Linked DNA regions of Homo sapiens: all the other regions are linked to region 2. Evidence: promoter capture Hi-C in 16 types of primary human blood cells and fetal thymus (Javierre and others, 2016). All regions are on one chromosome and are shown on one strand. The core of a region is centred on a gene start or on the middle of the fragment in contact, and the rest is flanking DNA. Distances in the headings are between cores, read along the strand shown. Region 1 holds the start of GEMIN8 (gem nuclear organelle associated protein 8). Region 2 holds the start of EGFL6 (EGF like domain multiple 6). Region 3 has its middle 22 kb from the start of GEMIN8.

Evidence for each region. The method cuts DNA at HindIII sites, captures the fragments that hold promoters and counts their contacts. A CHiCAGO score of 5 or more calls a contact.
Region 1: a contact is called between the fragment with the promoter of GEMIN8 here and the fragment with the promoter of EGFL6 in region 2, in 7 of 17 cell types (neutrophils, total CD4 T cells, M0 macrophages and 4 more). The highest score is 11.4, in neutrophils.
Region 3: a contact is called between a fragment that was not itself captured here and the fragment with the promoter of EGFL6 in region 2, in 1 of 17 cell types (activated CD4 T cells). The highest score is 5.9, in activated CD4 T cells.

What each region holds. Positions count from the first base shown.
Region 1 is chrX:14,028,072-14,031,660 of GRCh38, forward strand. It overlaps GEMIN8 (gem nuclear organelle associated protein 8), which reads right to left and starts at 1,821. Exons shown (of 5, transcript NM_001042479.2): 1 at 1,706-1,821. RefSeq lists enhancers at 1,410-1,910, 1,911-2,411 and silencers at 1,788-1,987, 2,022-2,161. The HindIII fragment of the contact is 15,884 bases long and covers 1-3,589 here.
Region 2 is chrX:13,567,554-13,571,231 of GRCh38, forward strand. EGFL6 (EGF like domain multiple 6) reads left to right here and starts at 2,048. Exons shown (of 12, transcript NM_015507.4): 1 at 2,048-2,382. The coding sequence starts at 2,309. The HindIII fragment of the contact is 1,986 bases long and covers 1,036-3,021 here.
Region 3 is chrX:14,049,660-14,053,217 of GRCh38, forward strand. No RefSeq gene overlaps it. Among named protein-coding and RNA genes, the nearest start is that of GEMIN8, 22 kb to the left of the region's middle. The HindIII fragment of the contact is 1,685 bases long and covers 1,430-3,114 here.

The sequences.
Region 1 (3,589 bases), core at 571-3,070, 460 kb after region 2:
CTTTTTTCTATAAACATATTCACGGTAATTCCATGTTAATCTCTCTTTTCTGAATTTATAGGCACTCACTATGCCTCATTTACTTGGGCACTTACTCAGTTACCTGTAGGCATGGATTCTACAATCTACTCCTTTTAAGTTTCCTATTTTCCTTCCAGCATAAAAATAATAGCTAATATTTCATGCTCTTAGATGCTGCTGAAATTGTTGAGCTTGTCTGTTGTTTCCTGATAACGTTCTCTCCTCCTGCATCTACTCCCCAAAATCTCTGAGGACCTAGTAACTCAAAAAACTGACTATAAAGCACCAAATCTTTTCAGGAAGCAAATATTTAAATACATTATGTTTTCAAAGATCTTTTCAATTCATCTGATATTTGATCAACTACATTCTTTTTTCACTTGTCCAGCTGTTCCGTGGCTGAATTTCCTCTTGTAGAGAAGTTGTTCAAAAAAAGTTCTGTACCTACTTTGCAAACTCTCCAATTTACACTCTAGCCTTAACTGTTCAAAACTTTCCCCCGTCATTCTCATCTCACCCTATCCTTTAAAAAAAAACCCAAAATGATTAATCACCATCTATAGAACAGTTTCAGAATGAACATTTCTCTCTGGAACTTTAGTTTGTATACTTCCCCAGCACAGCAATGAACACACAGAGGGGATTTATACACCTGTGAACTTGCTTTCAGTTATGCTTATTCCAAGTTACTAACCAGCAGTCTTTAAAAATATATGGTTTCTGTTCACATTGAAATTACAAAGAGACTGTTATTCCGATAAATTATGCTAGCAAAAATAGTATTTTTAAAGGGTAGCTCTCATCCTACAATTCATGGGGGCTGTGAGCATAAATAATCCTAGAAGTGTTGCGTTACTAATCTTTAGTCTAGATTTTTTAAGTAATATTGTTCTGATTTGAGATGAAGAACAGCTGAATACACAGCCTAGCCTGTCAAACGAGTTTAAAAACATCATTCCTGAAAAAAATAAAATTGTTCAGAACCATCTGATCTGTACTAAGGGAACATCAAGATTTCAGAGCTAAAATGCACTTCGTTGGCCACTGGTTCAATTACAGCTCATTACTGATAAGTGGGCAGAGACACAAGGCCCATAAACTGTAGGCGCCAGATGTCTCAAGATAACTCCCACCAAAAGCTGACCTCCTGCAGAGGTTAAAGTGCAAGAGAAAAGAAAGAAACCCGAATTTTTGAGCAGAGAGGGCAATATCCTAGACATCCTTCAAGTATGTGGCTGTCCTGGGCGATCTTCTATTCAGATACTGGACTGGATGGGCAAAATCCGAATTCACCTACAGACCTTAACACGGTGGTTCTCGGCACCCCAGAATCACCTGGGCAGCTTTAAAAACTACCGATGCCAGGGCCCCACTATTAGAGATTCTGATTTCATTGGTCCGGGATGGGGGCCCGGGGATCAGAATTCTTAAAGAGTCGTCCAGTGATTCGGAAGCACTGCAGAGCTGAGAGCCTCTGGGACTGGTCCCCTCTCACAATTAACCTGCAATGATTTAGGAATCTCATGGGCCTCCGGCCCCACCTTTTGTCGCGGGATTAAGATAATTATGAGAGCAACGTGACGTCCAAGACCTCGGCTCTCTGCGCATCAGAAGAAGCCAGGGCCCGGGGCGTCTAAGCTCCTCCCTCACTCCCCAAAGGAAACCCAGCCGTCCCCGAAGTCACCTCGTGGGCGCGCAGCTTGCGGATCCTGGGCGTTGGCCGCGCAGGGGCCTAGTTTTCCTTGGAGAGACAGAGGGGGAGTGGGGGACGCGAGGGAGGCGGCTGTTGCCGGGGCGACTGGAAGCGCGCTTCCGGTGCGGAACACGTGGCGTGGCGCGGCGCGCCGGAAGTCCCCCCCTGTGTCGCGGACGTCACGTTCGCACCGCAGGCGGTGCAGTGCTGGAGGCCGGAAGCTGCCTGCTAATCGGCTACCCCGAGTGGAGCGCCGGGGCGGCAGGCGTGGGATGGCTGCGGGTGGCGGGGCCGGCGGAGAGGGAGCTGCACCGGGCGGGGCACTGGGACTGTGGCGGGCACCCGCGCCGGGGGTCGGACGGTGCTTCTGCACCGGCGAGATAAGGGTCGCTTCTGCACCGCCCGGGTTTCCAGCCTTTAACTTTTTGTCCTTTCCTCAGCTTTCTTCGTTTTCCTTCCCTTGTCTTTACTTAGCCTTTTCTTTCTTCCTTTCTGTTTTCTTTCTTAACTAAAACAGTTTTAGTTTCTTAATTTGTCCCAGCGTAAAACACCCAGTCTTTGAAAATAGATTAACCCAGATCTCAGTTTGAGTGCGAGTCCAGTGCTAAGTTTGTAACTTCCCCAAGCCTCGTGTGTCTCATCTATAAGATATGCATAACCTAATGCAGAGTGCCTGATGCATTGCAGCAGACAAAACATTAGTACTAATATGTTTGTAATTATAACCATCACAGCAATACCTGCCCTGTTAACATTACAAGAGTCATTAACAAGAACCAAGCATAAACAATTAGAAGTCTTACGTGACATATCATTTCTGGGGCAATTACCATATTTAATACTTTCTGGGAATTTATTCCAAGGAAAAACAGGTACGAACCAGATAGATGTTTATTACAGAATTATTTTAAAAAGTGAAAATTGGAAAAGACCTAAATGCCCAACAAGGAAATGGCTAAGTCAATTGGGTGGTATTAATGACGTGACATTACTGTATTATTCCTGGACTACAGAAGAATTAAAATGGTATAGAAGAATATTAACTTTAACAAATATTTACTGGATGCCGGCTATGTGCCAAGTATTCTATGTTAGCGCTGTCCATTGTAACCACTACATGTGGCCCTGAGAACCTGAATTGTAGTAGTCTGAACTGAGATACACTGTAAGGGTAAATTACACTCTAGATTTTGAAGAAGAATGAGAAAAAGAATGTAAAATACCTCAATTTCTTTATAGTGATAACATCTTAGAGAAGGACTATTGAGGTTAAAGACTAAAATTTGATCTTTATCTTTTTACTTTATTAGTGTGGCTACTAGAACATTTAAAATTATATATGTGGCATGCATTGCATTTCTATTGTACCGTGGTATTCTATTTACCGGATACACAGTAGTAAACAATACAGTTTTGGGGCTCATAAAATTAAATCTTTTGTGTAGAACATAGACAATAAGCAGATAAATAGAATTGTATGTTGTGGTGAGTTATATGAAGACAGTATAGCAGGGTAAGGGCCAGAAAGTATGTGTATATAGAGGGGGATTATTTTAGAAAAGATTATTCCTCCACCTCAGAAAATGGATGTGGGAGGAAATGAGATATCTATGGATAGAAGCAGGAGATGGTAGGAGGGTGAAGTCTTATGGGAAAAGTCAGGTGTGGATTGAGACAGATAAGTCAGATGGGGCCTGGTGCAATCTCTACCTCAAGGAAGAAGCCAGCATCTAGAGAGGCAGGAAAGAAAGATGGAGAGGGGTAAGATAGGGAGAAAGAGCTTAGGGGGTTCCTGGGAAAGGCAGAAGGATGCAGGCCTAGAGTGGATATAGTTCAGGTAGAGTGATTCCTGGTTCTATGAATGAAAAAATACAA
Region 2 (3,678 bases), core at 798-3,297:
ATCACTAGCCATTTGCCTGAGGGCTTTCTTTGGCTGTAAGCCCCACTCTGTCTTCAGCACAGAAGACTGAGTTCTAGGATCAGTACCACAGTTGAAGCTTTCAGGTAATGAGTGAATGGAAGTGGTGTATAAATACCCAGTTCCCTTGCCTTTTAGGTAAAATCATTTGGAGATGCTTGTTCTATGCTGGCTCTGGGAGATCCCCAGCAGCATGAACCTCCAGTTGCTCACAATGATAACTTAATATATGCCTGATATTGTCTTCTTTCCCAACTCATTTCCTCACTCACCTACCCATGTTCTCTGTACCTCCAGAATAAACTACTTTTACTTGAATCCTTGCCTCAGGGCCTGCTTGTGGGGAAACCCACAACAAGACAAATTTTATATTCCATTTTCTTTAAGATCCTCACAGGTATAGAGTTCATAACTTATATTATTTTCTTTTAGTTTTAATATTTCAGTAAATAAAATAAGTTATGGTATGAAGAGTTCAAAGTGTTTTGATGACAACCTTGAAGAGCTCATCTTATTACCTTATTCATGATACTCATCTGACATGTGAATCTGCCAATACGTGAGAAGATGAGAAAAGAGATTGATATAACAGCAGCAGAGCCCAATGGGGAAAAGCCCTGGTTTCCAGTTCTGGTTCTATACTTGTTAGCTGTATGACCTTGGTCGGGCAAGCTGCTTAACCTCTCCGACTCAGTTTCTTGACACTTCAAACATGGGGGAACTAATGGTCTCCATCCACAGGCTTGTGGATGTTCAATCAGATAACATATGTGTTTAGGACAAGGTCTGACACTATTAATTACGAGCAGCTCAATGGTCTAACTAGTTACCCAAGAATACTGAATCCATGGGGATACCTTCAACTGTAAAATAGAAGTCCCAACTAAACATGGCTTGCACCAATAAGAACATCTATTACAATGTAAAGCAAGATTCTGCAGCAAGAATCTCCCCCCTCCCTACTTCTCACATTTCATTGGCCAGAATTAAGGCATATGCCTATAAAACCATGAATCAAGCTTCCAATCAAGATAAACCTCCTCTTTCTCTGTATCCTTTTTCATTTCATTTCTCACACTGGGCCACTGTGTGTCAGAGGACTATCACAATAAGCCTCAGTAGATTGGCTGGTGCCGGGCAACCTTAGCTGAGCTCATTCATATACGTGTGGATTGGGTAATATACATGAGGCTCCACCGAGTAGCTCTGCTTCAAGCTATAGATCTGCAGGTTGACGAGGTAGCTTTTTCACCTGTTTCTCATTCGCCTTGGACCACCAGGCTAGGTGGTGCAAGGTCTTCTCATGTCCATGATAGAGGGTCAGGTGTGTTAAGACCTAGGCTTGGAACTGGAACACTGCAACTTTTCTGCCCTTAAACCATTGATCAAACAAGTCACACGGCCAAGTCCAAAGCCAAGGTGTGGGGTCATAGTGTCTGCCTACCATGAAGCCAAAGGGTGTGGACGTAGGAAGGACAGAAAGGGATCAGTCATTCATTCTAATGTAACACGTTGTCAGAACAAAGAATGTGTCAGTACCCAAATGGATCTGAATTCATATAGCATTCATGTTTCTGCCATGAATTTCTGCACTGGTTACTATATTGGGATGTCATCTGGGGTCCCATGTAAGTAAGCTGTTGCAAATGGGCCTGAGAGATTACTTGCCAAATGACAGGGTTGCCCAGGACTTAGTGACCTTCCAGCTCTAGCATCCCATTATTTGCAGTTTGTAGAAGAAAACCGGGAGAACGTGAAAACCCAAAGAGAAGTGAGGGATCATGTCTTAGGAACCTGCATCCTTCCATCCTGCTTCGACTTCTCAACTAAATTCTTAAGTCCTGGAGTGCAGGTATCACCGAAATTTGCCCCATGCCTGAAATACATGGTAGTAGATGGTGACTCTGACAAGCGTGAAGTGACCTGAATCTGGGGGAAGTTTCTGGGTGAACAGAGAGCGCGGAGGATGCGCGGGTCATGCTGGAGGCGGGTCCCAGCCAGATGTGCACAGCCCGCCCCGCCCTCCCTCGCTCACCCCGTCCAGCTTCATCCGCAGAGGAGCCTCGGCCAGGCTTGCCAGGGCGCCCCCAGCCCCTCCCCAGGCCGCGAGCGCCCCTGCCGCGGTGCCTGGCCTCCCCTCCCAGACTGCAGGGACAGCACCCGGTAACTGCGAGTGGAGCGGAGGACCCGAGCGGCTGAGGAGAGAGGAGGCGGCGGCTTAGCTGCTACGGGGTCCGGCCGGCGCCCTCCCGAGGGGGGCTCAGGAGGAGGAAGGAGGACCCGTGCGAGAATGCCTCTGCCCTGGAGCCTTGCGCTCCCGCTGCTGCTCTCCTGGGTGGCAGGTGGTTTCGGGAACGCGGCCAGGTGAGTGTCTGACTGGCGATTGGCTTCCCCCCACCCCCGGCCTGAGGTCCCGCTTTGGGGCCCCATGTCTTTGCAGGCACCCCCGCGTGTATGGGTGTGAGTGTGCACGTGTGCCTGTGCGCGCTGCGACGGGATTTAACCTGGATACCAGGCCGGGAGCGCCCACGGGCTTTCCTCCCTGCTCTCCTGTGGCGGGGCTTTGCACCTAGTTAGCTCCTTTTGCATCAGCTGTGCCCCACCTGGCTGCGTCCGGAGGGTTGCAGGAGGAGGGAGGCTCTGCACGCAGACCCGTGGGTGCGTGCGGGCTTGATGGTCTGCAGACCTGCTGTAGGGGCAGGTGTGTGAGGGTTGGTATGCGTGTCGGTGGGTGGGTTCTGTGTCTGTGCGGTTTTGTGTTTTCCACTCTATTCACAGGACACCAAGTGCTTGTCAGTCGCTAGTTTTGCTGGGGAAGGAGGGAAAGAAACCGAGGACGATAAAGCATTTACTGTTCTTGAGCTGAGCCAGCCGGGCTGCTCTCCTCACTGCTCTCTGATTAGGGTTGATGAACTGGAAAGAAAGGACACGGTTGTCAGATGACAACCATTCTCATTCTTGCTATGGCAATGCAGACTCTGAAGCCGTTCCCTACTGCCCTTAAGCTTAGCTGAGACCTGAAATATTTTTTCCAGAGATCGGCAAAGACGCTTAGTAAATGCACGCTTACATGGTGACTGTCGACCTGGCACTGTTCTAAGCACTTCAGGACTATTAACCTACCCAAAGCCATAATGGCTCTGTGTGTAAGGTACTATTATCATCATCTCCGTGTTGTAGAAGAGAAAAACGAGGCACAGAGAGGTAAAGTAATTTGCCTGAGGAAGCATAGCCAGTAAGAGATGGAGCCAGGGTGCAAACCTAGGTATTCTGGCCCAAAGTCTGTTCTTCACCAGGGCACTAGGGCAGCCTTCCGGCAACGGAAGAGGTTTTCTGGTTCTCTAACTGTGATGTCTTGCTTTCTACTTAGGTGTCCACTAGAATATGGTTTTTCCACCGCAGCATTATTGACCTTTCGGGCTGGGCTGGATAATTATTTGTTGGGGTGATGGGCTGCCCTGTGCATTGTAGGATGTTTAGCAGCACCTGTGGCCTCTACTCACTAGATACTAGTAGCAACCTTGACCCCACCCCACCCCCCACCACCACCACCACCACCAAGTTGTGGCAACAAAAAAAAGGTTTGGGATATTGCCCAAGGTCCCTGGAGGGCACAATTGCTCCTAGCGGAGACTGCTGAACTATAGAAATTTTTCAGTG
Region 3 (3,558 bases), core at 1,022-3,521, 480 kb after region 2:
AAGAAAAATCCCCTCCTGGGAATGAGAAAATCATTGCCATTTTCTTATTTTTTTTGTTTTATTATTTATTTATTTTAACTTTTATTTTAGGTTCAGGGAATATGTGCAGTTTGTTATGTAGGTAAGCTACGTGTCATGGGGGTTTGGTGTACAGATTATTTAGTCACCCAGGTAATCAGCATAGTAGTATTTTGATCCTCACCCTCCTCCCACCTTCCACCTATGGACAGTTTGAATAAATGCCACATGAGCTCTGAAACTGCTGGGGTTTCTCCAAGGAAATCCCCTTAGAGAAAAGTAACATCTTCTATTTCATTTGGTCTTCTAGTTAGTTTAGATGTATTTAAGAGCAAAATTCATACAAATACGTGGAAGAAAGTTTCAGTGGGCTCTTCCACTTACTTCAGAAAATTGATTTAAAATAGGATTGATGTTAATTCCCAAGGCATTAATTAGACAGCTTGTAGGGTCCATCTTCTGCTAATTTCAATAATTTCCCTAAATTTTGCTTTATCTCTTTCATATGCAGAGATGTTCTCCTAAACTAATTTGATCAACACAAAAGAGATTTTATTTTCCTGGAAAAAAATCCAGCCCTTTAAAAAAATCATTGAATGTCAAATTATGAATACAGGACTACTTCTACACATTTATAATTCACATTCAAACATTTATTGAGCACCTACTGCATATAAGGCAAGATTATGGCATGATGAACTCAATTACAAAATTGGCAGGGTGCTAGAGAGAAAGGCTGATCCTGAAGCAGGAAAGTTATAAACAGAAAAGGATCCGTTGCTTAGGAACTTTCAAACTGAAGATTTTCTAGACTCTAGCTTTATTTTTGTTTCCCTTTTTAGAAAGCAGAGATGAAACCCAAACCTGGAGGTGGGAAAGGGCTCTGCGGGCTTTTGCACCGTGCTGGAGAGGAGGTGCAGGAGAGAGAGAGAGGCAGAATTCTCTCGCCTTGCAGTTTTGCCCTGATATCTGCAGGGCTGCAACTGCACCTAGGCACGTATTTACAAATCTGTCTTCCCTTTAGAATCTCTTGTGGGTCTTTAGAAAAATGCAAATAGCTCGATCCCAAGTCCTAAGACTGTGACTCAGTTGGTGGGTGAGGAGCCTGGGAGTCTGTATTTTTGCAAAGCTTTCTTAGTCACTGCTTACAGAGGTTTGAGAATCTCTATAGTACAGTCATTCCACTTAAGTCAGTGGTGCCTGTCTTACTGCTGCACATCAGAATCATCTGGTGTGTGTTAAAAATGCTGTTGCCTGGATCCCAACCCTATACATTCCCATGTCATTGGTTTTCAGTGTGCCTAAGCATCTGGATTTTTCCCACCTTCCCAGGGGACAGCAATGTACAGCCACACTGAGACCATTGGCTTAAAGGCATTCAATCCTGATGAATCATCTCTCTTGCTATCAAAGCTTAAAATGAAGAAATGGTGGCAGTTTGAATAACTGAATCAGAGAATTCAGTACAATTCAAAGATCAGAAGAAAGGATTCAGTGAGAACTGTTACAGAGGGAGTGGACTGGGGCATCATCACCAAGGTAACACCATTAACAGCACTTTTTCTTTGAGACAGTCGGACTTTATCATTGAAAGGTTAGCCAGGATTGGGGAGTGTGGTGGGTGAATGGGAAACACCAACACTCTTTAAAAGACTTGCTGCTTCTTCAGGTTCATAAATTGGTCTGTGCCTTGATTATGAAATAAGGCCTTTGTTTCTGGAGGATAAGCAGTCTCAATGGGCCTCCAGGGCAGGTAGAAACCTTGGCAGAGTATGGTCTGAGGACTTCTTCATCTGAAGGCAGGACACTGTGCAGCCTAAGAGGCGGCCTTCACACAGACAGCAGAGATTATCGGCTGACTTGTTCATAGACTCCATACTTGTAATTGGACAGTGTATTTCTTTTCATTTAGAAATGGCACAGCAGATGGCAGTCCAACATAAAAAGAAGGAGAGGGATATGTCACCATCTTCAGCAGTGGCACATGGACAAGAGATAGCAGCGTCTGGGAACCACACGGCTACTGTGGAAGTGTCACTGTCCAATAGAACTTTCCAGGTTGGTAGAACTGCTCTACATCTGCACTGTCCAGTACAATGGCCACTAGACACAAGAGCACTCGAGCACTTGAAATGAGGTAATGAGAATGAATAACTGAAATTTTAATTTTATTCAATTTTAATTAAGTACAATTTAAATTTGAGTGGTCACATGAGGCTGGTGGCTTCTATATTGAACAAGCAGCTCTCAAGAACAAACCTTACAGGGTTAGTTTCTAGACACCTCCAAGCCTTGGTTCCCTCATCTGTATTTCTTGTGTGCTGGCACCAGAATTCCTGTTAGAGATGGAACTGTCCTTGTTTGAAAAAATATCTCAATAGGTAATTTGGCCATCAAAACCAAGCCTTCAGAGAAGGGTCTGGAGAAGAAATGCAGAACTCAAGAAGGACCAAGTCATTTTCTATAAGAAATTATATGGGAGAAATTATTCATTTGTTGTTGGCTCTGAGTGAGGAGGAGTAAGGGAATAAAGGGAAAGAAGAGCCAGTAAGAAAGTTTGGGGGCTACATGGAATGTTGGGGGTGGCAAAAGGACTCTTAGGAATAGGGAGAGCTAATATTAGTTTTCAGTTACTTGTATTACTGTTGTGAACCCATGCTGTTTTTCCAAACCTTGGGTCAAGTTTGCTGTAAACATAAATGTCTTGGTTGGGTGTGTGTGTGTGTGTGTGTGTGTGTGTGTGTGTGTGTGTGTGTATTAAGTAAAGGGAATAAGCCTAATGTTTAGACTACAATGGAATGGAAAAGGGAAAACATGGAGTGATTAGACAGTTAATAAGCTAAACAAATTCAGTAAAGCAGGAGCTAAGAGGCAGAGGAAACCATGATAAAGTAAGCCCTTAAGAAAGTTGTAGCTAACATTTGTTTTTCATAAAATGGGGGTTCACTTCAAACTCATATAAATCTCAAAAGCAAGGGTCAGTACAGCTAATACTTGTATGTAAACTGGAGACAGTAATACCTACTTGAAGGATCGTTGTGAAGATAAAATGAGATAATGCTTGTGAAGGGCTTATACATAGTAAGAGCTTAATAAAGCTTTAGTTTTATGGTTTTAAAATGAATATATGGCTGATCCTTGAACAACATGAGGGTTAGGGCACCAACCCCCACCTGCAGTCAAAATTTCATGTATAACTTTTGCCTCCCCCAAAACTTAACTACTAATAGCCTACTGTTGATTGGAAGCCTCACTGATAACATGAACTGTTGATTAACATATATTTTGTATGTTATACATATTACATACTGTATTCTTACAATAAAGTAAACTAGAGAAAAGAAAACTGTTAAAAATCATAAGGAAGAGAAAATATTTTTACTATTCATTAAGTGGAAGTGGATCATCACAAAGGTCTTCATCCTTGTCTTCACATTGAGTAAGCTGAGGAGGAAGAGGGAGAGGAGGGGTTGGTCTTGCTGTCTCAGGGGTGGCAGAGACAGAAGAAGATCCACAAATAAGTGGACCCTTGCAGTTCAA